Linked DNA regions of Homo sapiens: all the other regions are linked to region 3. Evidence: promoter capture Hi-C in 16 types of primary human blood cells and fetal thymus (Javierre and others, 2016). All regions are on one chromosome and are shown on one strand. The core of a region is centred on a gene start or on the middle of the fragment in contact, and the rest is flanking DNA. Distances in the headings are between cores, read along the strand shown. Region 1 holds the start of LRRC23 (leucine rich repeat containing 23). Region 2 overlaps LOC105369632 (a long non-coding RNA gene). Region 3 holds the start of C1RL-AS1 (C1RL antisense RNA 1).

What was found. The method cuts DNA at HindIII sites, captures the fragments that hold promoters and counts their contacts. A CHiCAGO score of 5 or more calls a contact.
Region 1: a contact is called between the fragment with the promoter of LRRC23 here and the fragment with the promoter of C1RL-AS1 in region 3, in 17 of 17 cell types (total CD4 T cells, naive CD8 T cells, fetal thymus and 14 more). The highest score is 36.6, in total CD4 T cells.
Region 2: a fragment that was not itself captured here is called in contact with the fragment with the promoter of C1RL-AS1 in region 3 in 4 of 17 cell types (naive B cells, naive CD4 T cells, activated CD4 T cells and 1 more); the score reaches 6.9 in naive B cells.

The regions. Positions count from the first base shown.
Region 1 is chr12:6,903,372-6,906,071 of GRCh38, forward strand. It overlaps LRRC23 (leucine rich repeat containing 23), which reads left to right and starts at 1,451. Exons shown (of 8, transcript NM_001135217.2): 1 at 1,451-1,704; 2 at 2,214-2,388; 3 at 2,474-2,583. The coding sequence starts at 2,263. The HindIII fragment of the contact is 20,869 bases long and covers 1-2,700 here.
Region 2 is chr12:6,884,186-6,886,885 of GRCh38, forward strand. All of the region lies in intron 1 of LOC105369632 (a long non-coding RNA gene), which reads right to left. It also overlaps the pseudogene RPL13P5 and the pseudogene DSTNP2. Among named protein-coding and RNA genes, the nearest start is that of SPSB2, 12 kb to the left of the region's middle. RefSeq lists enhancers at 1-322, 1,969-2,516. The HindIII fragment of the contact is 559 bases long and covers 972-1,530 here.
Region 3 is chr12:7,107,023-7,109,911 of GRCh38, forward strand. C1RL-AS1 (C1RL antisense RNA 1) reads left to right here and starts at 1,286. Exons shown (of 12, transcript NR_026947.1): 1 at 1,286-1,459; 2 at 1,651-1,925. C1RL (complement C1r subcomponent like) reads right to left here and starts at 2,192. Exons shown (of 6, transcript NM_016546.4): 1 at 2,088-2,192; 2 at 1,229-1,457. The coding sequence starts at 2,158. RefSeq lists enhancers at 1,212-2,411, 1,244-1,413, 2,054-2,133. The HindIII fragment of the contact is 2,026 bases long and covers 724-2,749 here.

The sequences.
Region 1 (2,700 bases), core at 201-2,700, 200 kb before region 3:
GTGTCTTCCTCTTTCTTCTTGGCCAAGGAAACTCATATCCATTTCTTTTGACTACATCAAACCACATGGATTTTTCCCTTCTCCACACTCCAACAATACAATAACTTTCATTTGTATAGCACATCTCACTCTTCAGAGTGTTCATATTTATTATTTCTTTTTCCTCACAGCAACCCCAGTACCAAGGACACAGGCCAGGGGTGGGGAGGAGCAGGAAAATGTTTACTAAGGGTCAACTAAGTGCAAGGCGATTTACCCACATTATCTCTTTTAATCCCTTAACAATCCTTACAGGTGGACGTTTTAATAATCCCCATTTCACGACTGTGGAAATTAGACCTCAGTAAGATTTCATAACCTGCTGAAGGACACACAGGTATTAAGTAGTAGAGATGGGTTTTGAAGCTGGTGTCTCTGACTTTAAAGTCCCTACTGGTTCCATGACACCAAGTAAACAGATTTGCCTATTAACCACATTCCTCCAAGCTGCCCTGGGCAGGAGGTAATATAATACTTCCTGATTTCTTGCCCACCACATCTTCCACCAGACCACTTTGCCGTTATATAAAGTCTGTGGGCACAATTTAACAATGAATCACATGCCATCTTACCTGGTTACCTCATTGTTTCATTTACATTAGATTCCACAACAAGATTGGTAACATCCCCCTTTCCCCAGGCAGGAATTGTGTCATCTTAACCTCCCTGAGCCTCAGTATCCTCTTCTTTCAAATGTCTATCTTACAGGACTGTTGCAGAGATTAAATATCAGTTGTAAAGATGTTTGACATAATGTCTCGCACAAACTCTCCAGAAATATTTATTGCATCTCAACATCTTTTTCATCTCCTTCAACATGTCAGACAGGCCTGAGTGCCTGGGTTTGGCTATGCCAGTTCCTGTTGATTACTGATATAACAACGTTGGATCAGGAGTATTTTAGTGGGCAGATGTTGAATTTTCTGCCTTCCACCCACTAAAAGGTTTGCATCAAACCAGTCCAGGATAACTCATACTGGATCCCTGTCAGTTGATATAGTTAAGCTAATTCTACAGATAACAAAGAGTCTTGGGTACGTTTAGCTAGCAAATGCAGATCTGCCAAGACTCCAACCCAGTTCTTAAGGTATCTGGGTCTGGACTCCTTCCGCTCCACCAAGCCACCTTCCAAAGGTCTACCTGAAAATAACTAATGAGCAGAAACTATAGGGGGAAGGGGAAAAGACCCCTTATCTTGGTGTTTCTTGCTTTTCCTCGCAGCCCCGCCCTTTTTGCTTCGAAGGACGAGTTTTTCCTGAATTCACAATACTTTTGCATTGAAGATGTCCGGTCCCTTTAAGGTCTTGGGTGACGTAATGACTAGCCCCGCCCCCTCTCTTCTCGCTTCTCAGCCCTGCCCACTTCTTTTTGTCCTCAGCCAATTAGCGGCCCAACGCCCCTTCCGCGCCTCATCCGGGTTCCCGGGACGGGAAAGTGGCGTGGTAACCAGGCAACTACTGATCAATCCCCTCCCCGGCTGATTTGCGCATCAGGTAGTCGCCGCTCTACTCTCAACGGTGGCGAGCTGCAGTTGCCAAGTGCCCCGTCCCCGTTGCCATAACAGCAGTACACAACCCCTCCTTCCCCTCGCCCGCTTGCTAAACAGTCCTTCCCTCTCGGGACCAAGGGCCTCTCCAGAACTGCTTCTGATTGAGCAGAAACAGGGTCTGAGCCCCTTTGCTAAGGCGAATTGAGTGGGAGGGTTGGAGACTGCGCTTTAGGCTGGTGTACCAGAGGGCCCAAGGAAATTGGCCCAGTGGGGAGGGAAAAGTAGAAGAAATGAATGGAGCAGGGATTACGGATGGCGCAATGGGAGCTGAGAGGAGAGGAGGAGGAATTGGTAGGGAAGATTGGAGAGCATGGCTTAAGGGGGAGGTGGGAAGAATGGGGGAGAGGGAAGCCCAGGAAATAGGGACACCCGGCTGCTGGAGGAGAGCTGGAGTCACTGTGAAGGACAGGAAAGGCCTGGGGGTGTGGGTGACATCCTGAAGGGAGGGGGTCCTCAGTGGAAAGTGTGAAGTGGGAGTTGAGAATCAAAATGAGATGTTCACAGGGATAAGGAAAGAAGCCTAGAGTTGGTGGGTCAGAAGTCATGGGGGTGATGGGAGTGGCACGTGTCAATGACGATGAAGGAGCTGAAGGCTGGCAGAAGCTGATGAGACCTTCTTTTTCAGGAGGAGGACTGAGCTTATCTGACTCCAGAGCTTTCAGGAGGGAAGAAAGATGTCAGATGAAGATGATCTAGAAGACTCTGAGCCAGACCAGGATGATTCTGAGAAAGAAGAGGACGAGAAGGAGACAGAGGAGGGGGAGGACTACAGAAAAGAGGGGGAAGAGTTCCCTGAGGAAGTGAGAGCCTGGACAAGGAGGGGTCCTAGGGCTGAAGGAGGGGGTTGGGCAGGGGAGAGACACCTTACTCCACTTCTACCTGCAGTGGCTGCCCACCCCCCTCACGGAGGACATGATGAAGGAAGGGCTTTCTCTGCTCTGTAAGACAGGCAATGGGCTGGCTCATGCTTATGTCAAGCTGGAGGTTAAAGAGAGGTGCGTTTTGGGGGGACCAGATGAGGACTGTGAGACTGTAGGGCCCCTATCTCCTTTCCCACTGTCATTCCTGGGTGTTCTGGTTGAGAGTTTGACTCTTCTCATGCCTAGTGGAAA
Region 2 (2,700 bases), core at 1-2,500, 220 kb before region 3:
TACAAAGCACAAGCTGGCAGGGGCCTCAGCTTGGAGGAGTTAAGGGTGGCTGGCATTTACAAGAAGGTGGCCCAGACCATTGGCATCTCTGAGGATGCAAGGAGGAGGAACCAGTCCACCCAGGCCCTGCAGGCCAAGGTGCAGAGGCTGAAGGAGGACCGCTCCTCACTCATCCTCTTCCCCAGGAAGCCCTTGGCCCCCAAGAAGGGAGACAGTTCTGCTGAAGAACTCGAACTGGATACTCAGCTGACAGGACCAGAAATGCCCATCGGCAATGTCTACAAGGAGAAAGCCAGAGTCATCGCTGACTAGGAGGAAAACTTCCAGGCCTTGTTAGTCTCTGTATGGCCCATGCAAATGCCCAGCTCTTCGGCATATAGGCACAAAGAGCCAAGGAAGCTGTAGAAGAGGACGCTTAAAAAAAAAAAAAACGGGTAGGCTCGAGCCGCTGCATCAGCTTCGCGCTGGGTCTCTCGGTCCCGCAGCCATGAGGAGGACGCTGCCCAGACTCACTACCCGCCCTCTCAGTCCCGCAGCCACGAGGAGGACGCTGCCCAGACTCACTACCCGCCGGCTCCCTCCCCCGCGTCCCTGTGGTGGTGGGCGAAGATGACCTGTTGTGCATCAGATGCCTTTGAGACATACAACTGGAGATGTGAGATAGGAAATTGAATGTAAAGACTGGAAGCTCGGCAGAGCAGAACTCTGAACAACGTGCCTCAGGAGTGCAAGTTGCTGATGAAGTGTGTCGCATTTTTTATGACATGAGAGTTCGTAAATGCTCCACACCAGAAGAAATCAAGAAAAGAACAAAGGCTGTCATTTTTTTGTCTCAGTGCAGACAAAAAGTGCATCATGTAGAAGGCAAAGAGATCTTGGTTGGAGATGTTGGTGTAACTATAAGTGAGCCTTTCAAGCATTTTGTGGGAATGCTTCCTGAAAAAGATTGTTGCTATGCTTTGTATGATGCAAGCTTTGAAACAAAAGAATCCAGAAGAATTGATGTTTTCTTGTGGGCATCAGAACTAGCACCTTTGAAAAGTAAAATGATCTATACAAGCTCCAAGGATGCAATCAAAAAGAAATTTCAAGGCATAAAACATGAATGGCAAACAAACGGACCAGAAGATCTCAATCGGGCTTGTACTGCTGAAAAGTTAGGTGGATCCTTTTTTTTTTTTTTTGAGATGGAGTCTTGATCTGTCGCCCAGGCTGGAGTGCAGTGACAGGATCTCGGCTCACTGCAACCTCTGCCTCCCGGGTTCAAGTGATTTTCCTGCCCAGCCTCCTGAGTAGCTGGGATTATAGCGTGCGCCACCACACCTGGCTAATTTTTGTATTCTTAGTAGAGTCAGGGTTTCACCATATTGGTCAGGCTGGTCTCGAACTCCTGACCTCGTGATTTGCCCTCCTTGGCCTCCCAAAGTGCTGGGATTACAGGCGTGAGCCAGCATGCCTGGCCAGTGGATCCTTAATTGTAGCCTTTGAAGGATGCCCTGTGTAGATCATCATTCAGTGCCACAAATTGAAAGCTTCCACGTTTAATGTTATCCTCTTGCTATATAAATAAAGCAAATATATTTAGGCCAGGGTCTCACTGAGGGGAGCTGTCTTGTCATCTTTTAGAGTAAACTAAATACTCTATAAACATATGCAAACAGCCCTAAATATATCTGTAGGGGTGGGTTGCCCCTCCACACCTGTGGGTGTTTCTCGTAAGGTGGGACGAGAGACTTGGGAAAGAAAAAGACACAAAGTATAGAGAAAGAAATAAGGGGACCCGGGGAAGCAGCGTTCAGCATATGGAGGATCCTGCCAGCCTCTGAGTTCCCTTAGTATTTATTAATCATTTGTGGGTGTTTCTCGAAGAGGGGGATGTGTCAGGGTCACAAGACAATTGTGGGGAGAGGGTCAGCAGACAAACACGTGAACAAAGGTCTTTGCATCATAGACAATGTAAAGGATTAAGTGCTGTGCTTTTAGATATGCATACACATAAACATCTCAATGCTTTACAAAGCAGTATTGCTGCCCGCAGGTCCCACCTCCAGCCCTAAGGCGGTTTTTCCCTATCTCAGTAGATGGAGCATACAATCGGGTTTTATACCAAGACATTCCATTGCCCAGGGACAGGCAGGTGACAGATGCCTTCCTCTTGTCTCAACTGCAAGAGGCATTCCTTCCTCTTTTACTAATCCTCCTCAGCACAGAACCTTTACGGGTGTCGGGATGGGGGATGGTCAGGTCTTTCCCTTCCCACGAGGCCATATTTCAGACTATCATATGGGGAGAAACCTTGGACAATACCTGGCTTTCCTAGGCAGAGGTCCCTGCGGACTTCCGCAGTGTTTGTGTCCCTGGGTACTTGAGATTAGGGAGTGGTGATGACTCTTAAGGAGCATGCTGCCTTCAAGCATCTGTTTAACAAAGCACATCTTGCACCGCCCTTAATCCATTTAACTCTGAGTTGACACAGCACATGTTTCAGAGAGCACGGGGTTGGGGGTAAGGTTATAGATTAACAGAATCTCAAGGCAGAAGAATTTTTCTTAGTACAGAACAAAATGGAGTCTCCTATGTCTACTTCTTTCTACACAGACACAGTAACAATCTGATCTCTTTTGCTTTTCCCCACATATATCTAAAGTCTAAAGTTGTTTTTTTAAAAAAAAAAAAGAAAAGAAAAGAAAAGAAAAAAGA
Region 3 (2,889 bases), core at 36-2,535:
ACAAATAAGCATGTTATTTATACATATGAAGTTAAAGACCAGATGAAACAGCTACATGAATTGGCAAATGACTGCTCCTGAGGAGCAGCACTCAGGGGCGGGGAGGAACAGCTTGGAGACTGCTGTTATTCATAAACCTTTTTAAAAACCTTTTTTTTTTTTTGGAGACAGGGTCTCACTCTGTCACCCAGGCTGGAGTACGGTGTCATGATCAGAGCTCACTGCAGCCTCTACCTTCCAGGCTCAAGTGATCCTCTCACTTCAGCGTCCCTTGTAGCTGGGACCACAGGTGCGTGCCACCACACTTGGCTAATTTTTAAATTTTTTTGTAGAGATGGGGTCTTGCTATGTTGCCCAGGCTGGTCTCAAATTCCTGGGCTCAAGTGCTTCTTTCGCCTCAGCCTCCCAAAGTGCTGGGACTACAGACATGAGCTACTGCGCCCAGCCTTAGAAAACTTTAATTAAAAAACAAAAAGTCTTACAACTATTATGTATCCATAATAATTAAAAATTTTAAAATTAAAAAATAAAGTTCAAAAATTTATGTCATTTTGATATAAATAAAATTTAAATCAAAAGATAATGTGCTCTTTTTATTTTTATTTATTATTTACTTATTTTTGAGATGGGGTCTTGCTATGTTGCTTAGGCTGGCCTTGAACCCTGGGCTCCAGCCCTCTGATCCTCCAGCCTCAGTCTCCTGACTATACTGCTGGGACTGCAAGCTTGCATCACTCCATCAAGTACTGTTTTTAAAATGTCCTTATTCTGAATAAGGCTTTGGCGTTAGAAGTTTTGTAATAGCTCTTCCAAGGTAAGTGTGAACGGTGACTTAATCTTTTGTTATTATTTGTGTCCAGCTTCCTCACCTGATAGAGCAGGCACTCAACAAATACATGATGACATATTTTTAACAACCAATATGTGCGTCCCTGCCCCTGGCTCCATAGATTTGCAAGATTTGTGTGTCCATTCATAAGCCTTCCAAACGCAGGGCCTGCTTGCTGCCCTCTTTGCTCTGTGGGGCCCAGATGGCAGCCCCGGAGGCGCTGGTGGGAGGCTGTGTCCTGGGGTCCACCACTGCTCCCCGGTAAGCCAAGCCCGACTGCCCCTACATGGAAAATTCATCCCTCCTCCAGATGGGGGATTCAGGGCACCGCCACTTCCCACAACCCCGGGAATCTCCCTGGCCACAGTCCTGGCGGGACCCCCCCCATCCCCAGCTCACTGTGACAGAGTCCCCTGCACAGTCCTGGGACGGCTCCAGGTCGAAGTCCTGGAAGACGAGCCTCACAGCAAAGCCCTCTGGAGCCTTGATGTCCGTGCTGCTCTCTTGGCCTTTGCCATACGGCTCTGGGTACCCGGGGGATGTCAGCTGCTGGGGTAGCTCTTGGGCCAAGAGGACGGAGCCCCGGGTTGGGCAAGCCTGGAGGACTCCCCAGAGAAGCAGCCACCACCTGTGAGTTGGGGGGAGGGCAAGGTGGGGCCGCGCAGCTATGGCCGGAAGCCTGTGGGTGTGGGAGGAGCGGGGGAGCCGCGCTAGGACTCAGAGGCCTCGCGAGGCAGGGCTAGAAGCTGTGGCCTCACCCTTGAGGCCCGGGCACTTCCCGTCTCCTCCCTTGCTCCCCTTCCTCACCCCAATCCCTACAGCCTCCCGCGCAGCCTGAGCTCTAGGATTGTGGGTTTTCCATCCTCCGAAGACATCACCTTTGCTCATCTCCCAGGAGAGTCTCGTCCAAAGGAGGGGGGTGCTTTCTGCTTCAGCAGATCCCACCCCACCCTGGGATCCGAGGGAGCAATGGTGGGGCGAGTGAGGGTCTGCCGTAAATATCCCCCGACCACCCTCTGGGAAGGTGCTAGAGGCCACAGGCAAATTTCAGTCTCCCCATGGAATATCTGCTGTGCTGCTGCTGCTGCTGCTGCTGGTGTGTGTATGTGGGGGAGGTGTGTGTGTGTGTGTGTGTGTGGGGGGGGGGGGGATGTGTGTGTGGGGGGGGTAGGGTGGGGGGAGGGAGGGTTTGCGGCCACCCACCCTTTCTCTTCCCCTCCCGTCCTCTTCCCTCCTCCTCTGCCGGGGCCACACTCACATTGCGCCTGGACAGCCTTTGGAGTGAGGGCTTCTCCAGAGATATTTCCCCCACACTCTGGGTCCAGGCATCTGGAACTGGACATCTGGGACCTGCGAGAGAACTGGCCCAGGATAGGGAACAAAAGGTGAAGGCCGGTGGGGGAGGAGGAAGTTCCTGGAAATGTTAAGCAACTCCACAGTTCCCCTTCTCCAATTCTCCGGGCTGAGCGCCACCTGCCGTCTGACTCAGGAACAGCGGGCCCGCCGCAGCTTAGGGGAGAAACGTCCAAAAACCTCGCTGGCCCTCAGAGGTCAGGGTGGCAGGGCACTGACTCGACCCTTTTGTACTATTTAACATTAATTTTTGCCATGTGTGTAGGATGGCTCCTTGTGAGTTATGGCTGCTGCCTTCAATCAGCCATGTCTCTTCCTCCCCGACCTTTCCGTTCACGACATACCCGGGGAGCCTCCCTCTTGTAGAATTGAAGTTTGTGATCCTTGAACTTGAGCTTTCTCTTCCTTTCCCTCCTCCCCAAGCAGGGGTGGGGGACATGCGCTTAGGTGGTCTTTTGAATCCTATTCACAACCTCTGGAGGCTGCTTGTCCAGCATGGTCAGGGCTGGGGTCGAGCCCAGGTGTCCCTCAGTCCCTAGTCCCAGTCATCACTCAAGCCGTCACTCAAGCTTCTTTAGGCAGATACTAGAGCCCCTGCCTGCTCTCACCGCTCCCCGAGGAAGGACACTCACCCACAGCTTGGTAGGAGGCCAGAAGGCTCTTATGGAGATGGGTGGTCCCATCCTCAGAGAAGGCAGGTGTGTGGA